Regions from separate parts of the Homo sapiens genome. Here regions 1 and 2 are each linked to region 3. Evidence: promoter capture Hi-C in human tissues and cell types (Jung and others, 2019). All regions are on one chromosome and are shown on one strand. Each heading gives the region's core, a stretch centred on a gene start or on the middle of the fragment in contact. The rest is flanking DNA. Distances are from core to core; before and after follow the strand shown. Region 1 overlaps UGGT2 (UDP-glucose glycoprotein glucosyltransferase 2). Region 2 overlaps UGGT2 (UDP-glucose glycoprotein glucosyltransferase 2). Region 3 holds the start of DZIP1 (DAZ interacting zinc finger protein 1).

Region 1 (2,937 bases), core at 407-2,906, 400 kb after region 3:
AATGATATATTACTATCCTAGGGCTACCACACCATTACCCAAGGATCCTCTACACATCTTTCCTGGATAACGCCATGTTTGTACTGGGCTTCTGCTGAGATGGTTGAGTGGATTCATGAATCACAGGTCTAACCTATTCAGCAAGAGAAATTTATTCTCTCATAGTTCTGGAGGCCAAAAGTCTGAAGTCAAGGTTTGAGCAGAGTTAATGCAAAAGATTCTAAAAGCTGCCCTTTTTTTGTTGGGTGCATCATTCAAGCCACCCTCTAGCCCCCAAAGCCCCCAAAATCCACCTCCCCTACATAAAATATATTTCCCTTTGCCAACAACCTCCAAAAACTCAACCAATTACAGCATCAATTCTAAGTCCAAAATCTCATGTAAATATCGTCAACTTCATTTACAAATTTTATCATCTAAATCATGTATGGGTGAGACTCTGGGTATGATCCATCCTGGGGTAAAATTCTCCCCTGTCCACCTGTGAAACTAGAAAACAAGTTATGTTTCCAAAATGCAATGGAGAGACAGGCATAGGATGGACACTCTAATTCCCAAAGGAAAAAAATAGAAGGAATAAAGGGGTCACTGGTCACAGGCAAGTTCAAAATCCAGCAGGGCAAATTTCCATTATGTTTCAAAGCCTGAGAATAACTCTCTGTGGCCTGATGCTTCACCCTCTGTGCTGCCTGCCATGGTTCTGCTTGCAGAGTTATTCTTTCTTTCTTGAAAGGGCAGCACAATGTTTACAGCCAAGTAGCTCTATAGTCCATTTCCTGCCTATAGAATTTTGGAAGTCCAACAGCCTTCTTTCATTTTGTCTTGTCTCTTTCGGTCCAAGCTGACAGTGTTTCTAATACATTCCCCAAAACTTTGTAAGACTATTGTATATTTCACCAAGAGCCACATCATTACACGGATCCTCCCCAGATCCTTCCTGGATATCCCCACCTTCTTTATACCAAGCTTCTGGGGAGATGGTTGAGGGGACCCATGAATCACATGCTTAACCTGTTCAGCAAAAGGTTGTCCTGCCAGGTTTCTGTCTTTCTCTCCAGAGCACACATTCCCAACACTGAGTTTCCTAGTTGTAACACTCTTTACAATCTGGATAGGCTGAGAACCTCCAAAATCATCAAGTGTTGGTTCCTTTTTCCTTACCTGTTCCTTTTTAAATTTATCTCTTTCTTCTCTCATTTTAATATAGGCAGCGAGGAGAAACCAAGCAGCACTTTTAACACTTTGCTTGGAAATCTTTTCAGCTCATATCCAAGTTCACCAGTTTCAAGATGTTTTCCACAAACTGTAGAAACCAAGTCAGCCGGTATTGTATCACTACATAACAAGGGTTACCTTTCTTCTAGATTCCAATATAATGTCTCTCATTTCCTTCCAAGCCATGGCCAGAACAGACTTCAATGTTCATATTTCTACTGAAATTCTCTTCAGGATGATATAAGTATTCTCTATGATGACAGAAGTTTTTTCAACTATGCCCTTTAATCTCTTCTAAGCCCTCAGCAGAATCACCCTTAATGTCCAGATTTCTGAAGTCTCCTCAAGGCAGTCTAGGCTTTTAATACCAAACTTCTCAAAATTATTCTAGCCTCTGTCCAACTCCACAGCTACTTCTACATTTTGAACTATTTGTTACAGCAGCACCCAACTTTTTGGTCCAAAATCTGTATTAGTTTCCTAGATCTGTTTAACAAATTATGAAAAATTTGGTGACTTAAAACAGAAACTTATTCTCTCACAATTCTGGAGGCCAGAAGTCCAAAATCAAGGTGTTGGCAGGGCTGTGCTCCCTCTGAAGGCTCTAAGGGAGACTGTTCCATCCTGGTGGCTTCAGCTGTTCCTTGGCTTGAGGCTGCCTAACTCCAATCTCTAACTTCACATGGCCTTCTCCTTTTTGCCTGTGTCTTCTCTGCTTCTGTCTCTTAAAATGACATTGGATTTGGGGCCCATCTAGATAATCCAAGATGATCTCATCTCAAGATCCTTACTTACATTAACACAGACATTTTTCCAAATAAGGTAACATTCACAGGTTCTGGGAGTTAGGATGTGGACATATCTTTTTGAGGCCAGCATTCAACCTACTACAGATGCCCCTTGACTTAGGGTTACCTCCCAATAAACCCATTAAGTTGGGTTTATTAAGTATTAAGTTGCAAATACTATAAGTAAAAAATGCATTTAATACCCTGGCAAACCCATAGTAAAGTCAAAAAATCCTAAATTGAACCATGATAAGTTGGGGACAATTTGTACAAGTGATGGGGTTTGTAAATCAGACTGCGGCTAGACTGTCAAGGACCTTAAGGAGCATAACACAGCAGTTCCAACTCTAAGACTCTCAAGGCAAATGTAAAGCCAGATACTGTAACAAGCAGTCTAAGGCTGGAAAAAGTTAGACTGATTTGGAGCTAAGTGTGAGATCAGATCTAGGCAAACAGTTAAATACTGGGGAAAGGATAAAGGAAGGGGATCAAAATTAAGCTAGAATCAGGTATTAAATAAAAACCGTTTTAGCCTCCCACTCAAATGGACAGAGCAGCATGTGGAGTCTTGAATTCTGAACCTTTGCTCCAGAACTGCTGCAGGAATAAATTAGAAAAGCCAAGAGAACCCACAGACCCTCTGAAGGAAATGAATTGCTCCTGTAGGACCTGGGAGATACCCCAAATACTCTGAGTACCCAAACTGTGAGAGTGGGAAAGGGGGATTGTCTGCCCCTGAAAACACACTCTCACTGGGGAACCCGAAGGTGTATATCACTGGAGAAGATTCTGACCTTACCTGGGGCTGAGTCAATTTAGAGAGCCAAGCAAAATACAAGGGTAGAGGAAGCAGCAGGAAAAGCCCTGTGGGCTCTCTGGGTCCCCTAGGAAGCTATTTCTGCCTTGCCTCACAGGGGTCCTCGGGTAGGGCTGC
Region 2 (2,897 bases), core at 155-2,654, 340 kb after region 3:
AAAGGGTAAGAATATGATTTGGCAGTACTTTGGGCATAGACCTCCTACTTAGAGTAATACTTTTTATCATCCTCCATAAGGGAAAGAAAAAACACTCCTTCATTATTTATTGCTTAAACAAGTTTTTCCTTAGATTACTATGCATGATTTTAGAAAATTTTTTAGGACTTTTTTTCCTATTTGCCTCTAACAAGAGTTCTACCTTACAGTGCATACACACATGTATGCACAAGCCAATATTTTGCTCTAATCAAAAAATATATATATATTGAAAAGGCCCTGATTTCACAAAAGCTATATATACTAGAACTAATTGACACCTTCATGTTAAATGAAATCAGCTATTTTCATAAAACTCATTTAATAGAAAGAGTTATAGCTGCAATGAAACCTATAAACTTTAACATACCTGGCTTTTATGGGGAAGTTCTGTGAAATGTCTTTCATTAATTTAATGGAATCATAAACTGGAGCGGACATTATTTGAGAAGCTGCTTGAAAACTAAGATCTGGAAGGAAAAATATTATTAAGGAATCTAGCATAATATTAGACCTTTATAGACATTTCCATGAAATTGAAATACTTGACTCAATTCTTCTTGCCAAGTATTAGTATACAAACATGTTAATACTGTTACATCTGCATTTTTAAAAAGTTTTAAATGTAAAGTTATCACTTATTTCCAAATATAAGCTTTATACTTTTATGAATGACTATTTAATACCTCTTGTTTCCACAAATTACAGTATAATTTCGAGAGAGATATATGAAAAGAAATGCTCTCGCAAAGCTTTTTCTATACTTAAATGAAACATATGACAAAAAGTCAAAAGAATAATGAAGAGGAGTAAAAAGAGCTTTAAAGAGCCAATTCTGAAAAGACCTCTAAGAAAGCTCCACTGTGTTTAACTCAGTAAATAGAAACATTCAATTTCTCTTTCAACATTGTTTTACCTTTGTGCTGAAATAAAATCCTAAACTTAGTATTATTTTATCTGATATGACAATCCTATAAAAAGAAAAATGTGTGTTGCTAACTGTGGTTAGTTTCAAACATGTCAGAAGAATTCATCTTAGTATTATTACTTTGTCAAGAGTCAGAAAAGATTTAAAACTAAATTCTTTCATTACCTACCTCAACAGTGAGGCAGATTGTTTCTCCTTTAGCTTAAGGACAGGATACTCACCCCACCACTGAACCTAACCATCTGGATATCTTACAATGACTTTAAATCAACCTTTCAACACTAGTCTCATTATTTCTGAGTCCCATATTCAGCCCCAAAGTCTGCTTACATGTTTTATATATTCTCTCTACTCAGGCTCAAGCTAGAAATCCTAGAATTATCTTTGACTCCTTTTCACCTTCTAAATATTTATATGCCTTCTATCACTATTTCAGTAATGTCTACCTAGATTTCTTGCTTTTAGTCCATTGAAATACATCTTACACAGACATTAGGGAGTCAACTAGAACTAAGCTGACTATGCATACTCTTTGCTTAAAGGCCTTCAAAAACACCCCATCACTTATACTTTTCTAAATTATGCAAAGGCCCCTTAGAGAACATTTTGAAGGAGGCTTAAAACATAATTATACTTTTTAAAAAGTGCTAAAATAGAGACATAAAAAAGGATCTAAAAATAATTGAAGATACTAGAAAGAGACTATCTGAAATTATGGATTTAGGAATATAAGCTCTATTAGAACTTAGACAAGAGCTTCACAAACCATGCTAAGGGGTTTAAACTTAATACTTTTAATGGATGTGCATGAAATCAGTCCTTAATGATGCAAATGACTTGGCTAGCTAGTCCTATCAACCCCTTCTTACATTCGAAGTCTCTCCAGAAGTATTTACCTTGGAAAAACAGAACTTTCTCAGAGAAGAGGACTGCATACTTTGTTTGCCCCCCGCATCCACTCTTTCCTGCTCCGGGCCCCCAAAAGGCTGGCCTATCTGAACTGCATCAATAAGCTCCCTTGCCCTCAGATTTCTAGTTAGATTCAGCCAATCCAAGTAACTAATATGGGATCAGTAAGCAAGAAAAGAGTAAGGAGTGGAATAGTTACTACCCAGATCCCTTCCTTGATACACAGAGGACAGTCCCTCGGGGTACTACTGCTGTGTCAAGCAGCTCTCTCGACACACTCTCCAGGTTTTGGTAACCACTCTCTCCTCTTGCTCCCTCAAGATTAGGGGTAGAAAATGTTTCCATCTAGTTGCAAATACTGGAATCGAATAATCCATTCCTTGTTGGTTTCCCTCAATCATGCCTGTCTCTGTAAAAAGTCCCTTTATTAAACTTTTTAGTTTGTGTGTGCCAACATTTTCCTGTGGGGACTAATGTAAGGCCACTATTTGATCAGGGATGTACAAGTGATAAAGCCTGGCTGATTTGACACAAGGCCAAAATCAGATTTTCATTTTAGAAAGATTATCTCAGTAACCTTATTGAGAATGAATTTGAAACTACTACCTCAGTTTAGTGTTATCATGATGTCAAGTGAAAGAACAGTCACAAGGGCTGTGGTATAATAAAAGGAGGTCTAAGCATGAGGTCTAGATGAGACATTAAATAGGAAACTGTACACCAGAAGGGTCCAGGGAGAATAGATTCTATCAGTTCAAAGAGGTAGATTCTTTACAGTAAATCTATCATAACAATGGCCTTGAATCTCATTCTGCTGAATGATTTTTCTATTGATATATTGATTTTCTAATGATACAGGGCTTAGTTGATACAACATTTGTATTAGGTAGGTAAAGAATAGCAGAAGTTATAAAACTTAATAGATTGTGTCTTGCACATTCTGCTATAATTTTAAAATGTAACATTCAATATTCTGTTAAGTGTATATAAAGTTTACCTAGATACCATATGGTACAGTATA
Region 3 (2,956 bases), core at 1-2,500:
TCCCTGCAACCAGGCATAAAAAGTGCTAAAGACATAAATAGTTTCAAAGTTTGATTCTGTCACTTACTTGCTCCCTGATCTAGAACAAATTGTCAGCTCTAAGACTTAGCTTCCTCCATCTGTTTAAGAGCATCAAGACACCGACCTGGCAGGTCTGTAGATTCTGGACTCCATCCACTGGGCTGCAGGATCAGCGGGAACAAGAGCTGTGGTCTCTCTTGCTCAAGTATACGTCCCTAGAACCTAGCAGAGGACAGGCACGGAGAAGGCGTTCAGAATTTGCTGAATGGACACGTGAATGAAGAACGATCGAATGACTTAGGCGCTTAGTTAAGGAAACATCAGCTCCTGGCCCTTTATCCCTCCTATTTTTGCTGCCTCTGGCCTGTTAGAACGATTAACCCATGATCTGGGCCAAGGGCTTCAGAGCTGAACGTGGGGGTGGCCCGCGCGCCCCCGCTGAGATCTGGGCGCAGAGGCCTGCGGGCCCGAGGTACCCATCTCCGTTGGCCGCCACACTCCATCGTGGGGCGTCGTGCCGCTGACCACCCCTTTCCCCTTGCGTGGATCTCGGTCACAAGATGGCCGGAACAGGAAAGAAGGGGGCATGCTTTCCCGTTCCCTCCCTCCCCCATCCCGGGCAGGGCCCCCAGCCTTGCGCGGCGCCTCAAGTCCCAGGCGCATGGCACCGCCGGGCAGCCGAACCAGCAGACAAAAGCCGAGAGACGCGGGTTCCAGGGGAACCTCGGCGCCCTTCCTTGGAAGGCAAACAGGCAGTGGGGGCAGCGGCGGCTACTCCAGCTGGATCTGCAGAGGCTCGGCTCGCAGCCTGGAGAGGCAGGAGGGCCGGCTTCGCGGGTATCGGGATGCCCCGTCAGCCACCTCCTGTGGGCGCCTGGCGCATCCCCGGTCTCGGCTCACCCCAGCTGCGCGCTCCTGGGCGGGTGCCGGGCGCTGCAGGCGGGCGGGGGCGACACAGGGGACCCAGACCCCAGGGTCGCTGCTGACGCGGGCCGGGCCCGCGGAGGCCGAGGAGCAGCAAAGCGGAGAGAGGCAGGCCGGCTCCTTCTTGCAGGGCGCAGGATGAAACGTGTCTGGTCTGGGCAAGTTGTGGCGAGGCGGGTCGACTGGCGCCGCTCTAGGGCCTTCCAGACTCCGGACCACGGACGACTCAGGATACCCCACCCCCCTCCCGCCCCCTCCCCTCCGCGATCTCCCTCCGGCCTCTTCCCTCGGTGTCCCGGCTCCTCTGGCAACTGGGCGGGACCGCGAGCGTCTAGACCGCAGCGCTAAAATGCGCTCAGCCAATCCGGCAGCTGGCGCAGACACGTGGTTCGGGGGCGCGCTCCGTTGCTGGCCCTGGATGCTAACCCTAGGAAGGCTTTTCAAAGAGAAACCAGATTCGCTCCTACCCGGTTGTTGGTCTGGCCCTCAGCAAGCTAATTTCCCAGAGGAGCTTCAGGTGAATTATCTTCCAAAAAGAGATGCGTTTTAATCGCAGAAGTCTGCAGATGCGAAGGACCTTGAAAAGGCTATCTAATGTGGCCCTGCATTTGAGTGACGTGGAAAACCGAGATTAGGGACTTTTCACCAAAGCCCTCTAGGATTTAAACCCACGTAGGTTTCTGCGTCTCTTTCCGTTATGCCCACTTCAGGATGAAAGGCACGGATCTTTGTTGGTAGAAAGTTAGGCACTGAATTACAGGAGATGTGGGTCCGGAGTAGTGTGCTCATTTATGTAACCTAAAATTGGAACACGTGGGACAAAAGTCAGTATTTTTAAGTAACAAGTAATCCAGAACGTATGTATATACCATCATGAGAAATGAAGGCATCTTTTGCAAAACCTAAGTGTCTAATGCAGCTATATATATATATATATATAATATATATATATATGTTTTTAAATTAGAGAGGAGTAGCTGCAGAACTTTTACTGGACCAACATGCCGTTGTAAAAGTGCCTTTCCTTGTGCTTCTCCCTGACAGAATCAACTTTGTACCATACTTTAGCACAAGGCTTCAAACATAGCAACAGCTAAATATGTATTTATGTTGAATTCCTTGCTTTAGTTTTATTTGAAGCCATAAGGCCAAGATGACCATGATGGGATTTTAAATTGGTCTAATTTTAAAATTATTTTGAAAGAAAATTCAAGATCTCTATAAAAATCCTCTAAGTACTATGGGGAAAGATTTCTAGATAGAAATTTCAGACAATAGGCCGAGCGCAGTGGCTGACGCCTGTAATCCCAGCACTTTGGGAGTCCGAGGCGGGTGTATCACGAGGTCAGGAAATCGAGACCATCATGGCTAACACGGTGAAACGCCGTCTCTATTAAAAATACAAAAAATTAGCCGGGCATGGTGGTGGGCACCTGTAGTCCCAGCTACTCGGGAGGCTGAGGCAGGAGAATGGCGTGAACCTGGGAGGCGGAGCTTGCAGTGAGCCGAGATCGCGCCACTGCACTCCAGCCTGGGCGAGAGAGCGAGGCTCCGTTTCAAAAAAAAAAAAAAGAAAAAAGAAAAGAAAAGAAAAAGAAAGAAAGAAAAAAAAAGAAAGGAATTTCAGACAATATGAGATAGATAGGACCATTGCTCTGCAAAATCCGGTTTTTGCAAACTCGGTAGCTGTCTGTGTGTGTGTGTGAGAGAGAGAGAGAGATGATTGCTTAATTAATATTATTTGTTGACATACCATTTGAGTTACATGTATTTCCCATCCCCACTGTCAGTATATTACCCTACAGGTGTAGAATTGGAATAAGAAGAATCAATTGACTTTGGCATGACTTAGCAGCCATGATGCATTCTTGATCTATGCACAAACCACTTTTACCAATTGTATAATGGTATACATATTTTTAATGATTAAGGTATCTCTCTCGTCGGTCAGACTATAAGAACCTCAAGTATTCCAGCATTTTGAGCATTTAGTAAGTCCTCAAATAAATAT

Evidence for each region. Contacts are between HindIII fragments. The study calls those that stand out against the background at their distance.
Region 1: a fragment that was not itself captured here is called in contact with the fragment with the promoter of DZIP1 in region 3 in 1 of the 25 tissues and cell types used here (dorsolateral prefrontal cortex).
Region 2: a contact is called between a fragment that was not itself captured here and the fragment with the promoter of DZIP1 in region 3, in 1 of the 25 tissues and cell types used here (lymphoblastoid cells).

The regions. Positions count from the first base shown.
Region 1 is chr13:96,038,473-96,041,409 of GRCh38, forward strand. All of the region lies in intron 1 of UGGT2 (UDP-glucose glycoprotein glucosyltransferase 2), which reads right to left. Among named protein-coding and RNA genes, the nearest start is that of UGGT2, 13 kb to the right of the region's middle. The HindIII fragment of the contact is 6,154 bases long and covers 1-2,937 here.
Region 2 is chr13:95,985,924-95,988,820 of GRCh38, forward strand. UGGT2 (UDP-glucose glycoprotein glucosyltransferase 2) reads right to left here. Exons shown (of 39, transcript NM_020121.4): 9 at 410-509. Among named protein-coding and RNA genes, the nearest start is that of UGGT2, 66 kb to the right of the region's middle. The HindIII fragment of the contact is 4,549 bases long and covers 1-2,897 here.
Region 3 is chr13:95,643,456-95,646,411 of GRCh38, forward strand. DZIP1 (DAZ interacting zinc finger protein 1) reads right to left here and starts at 1,251. Exons shown (of 23, transcript NM_198968.4): 1 at 922-1,251; 2 at 146-243. RefSeq lists silencers at 864-973, 1,034-1,123, 1,214-1,323 and an enhancer at 1,414-1,463. The HindIII fragment of the contact is 16,516 bases long and covers 1-2,956 here.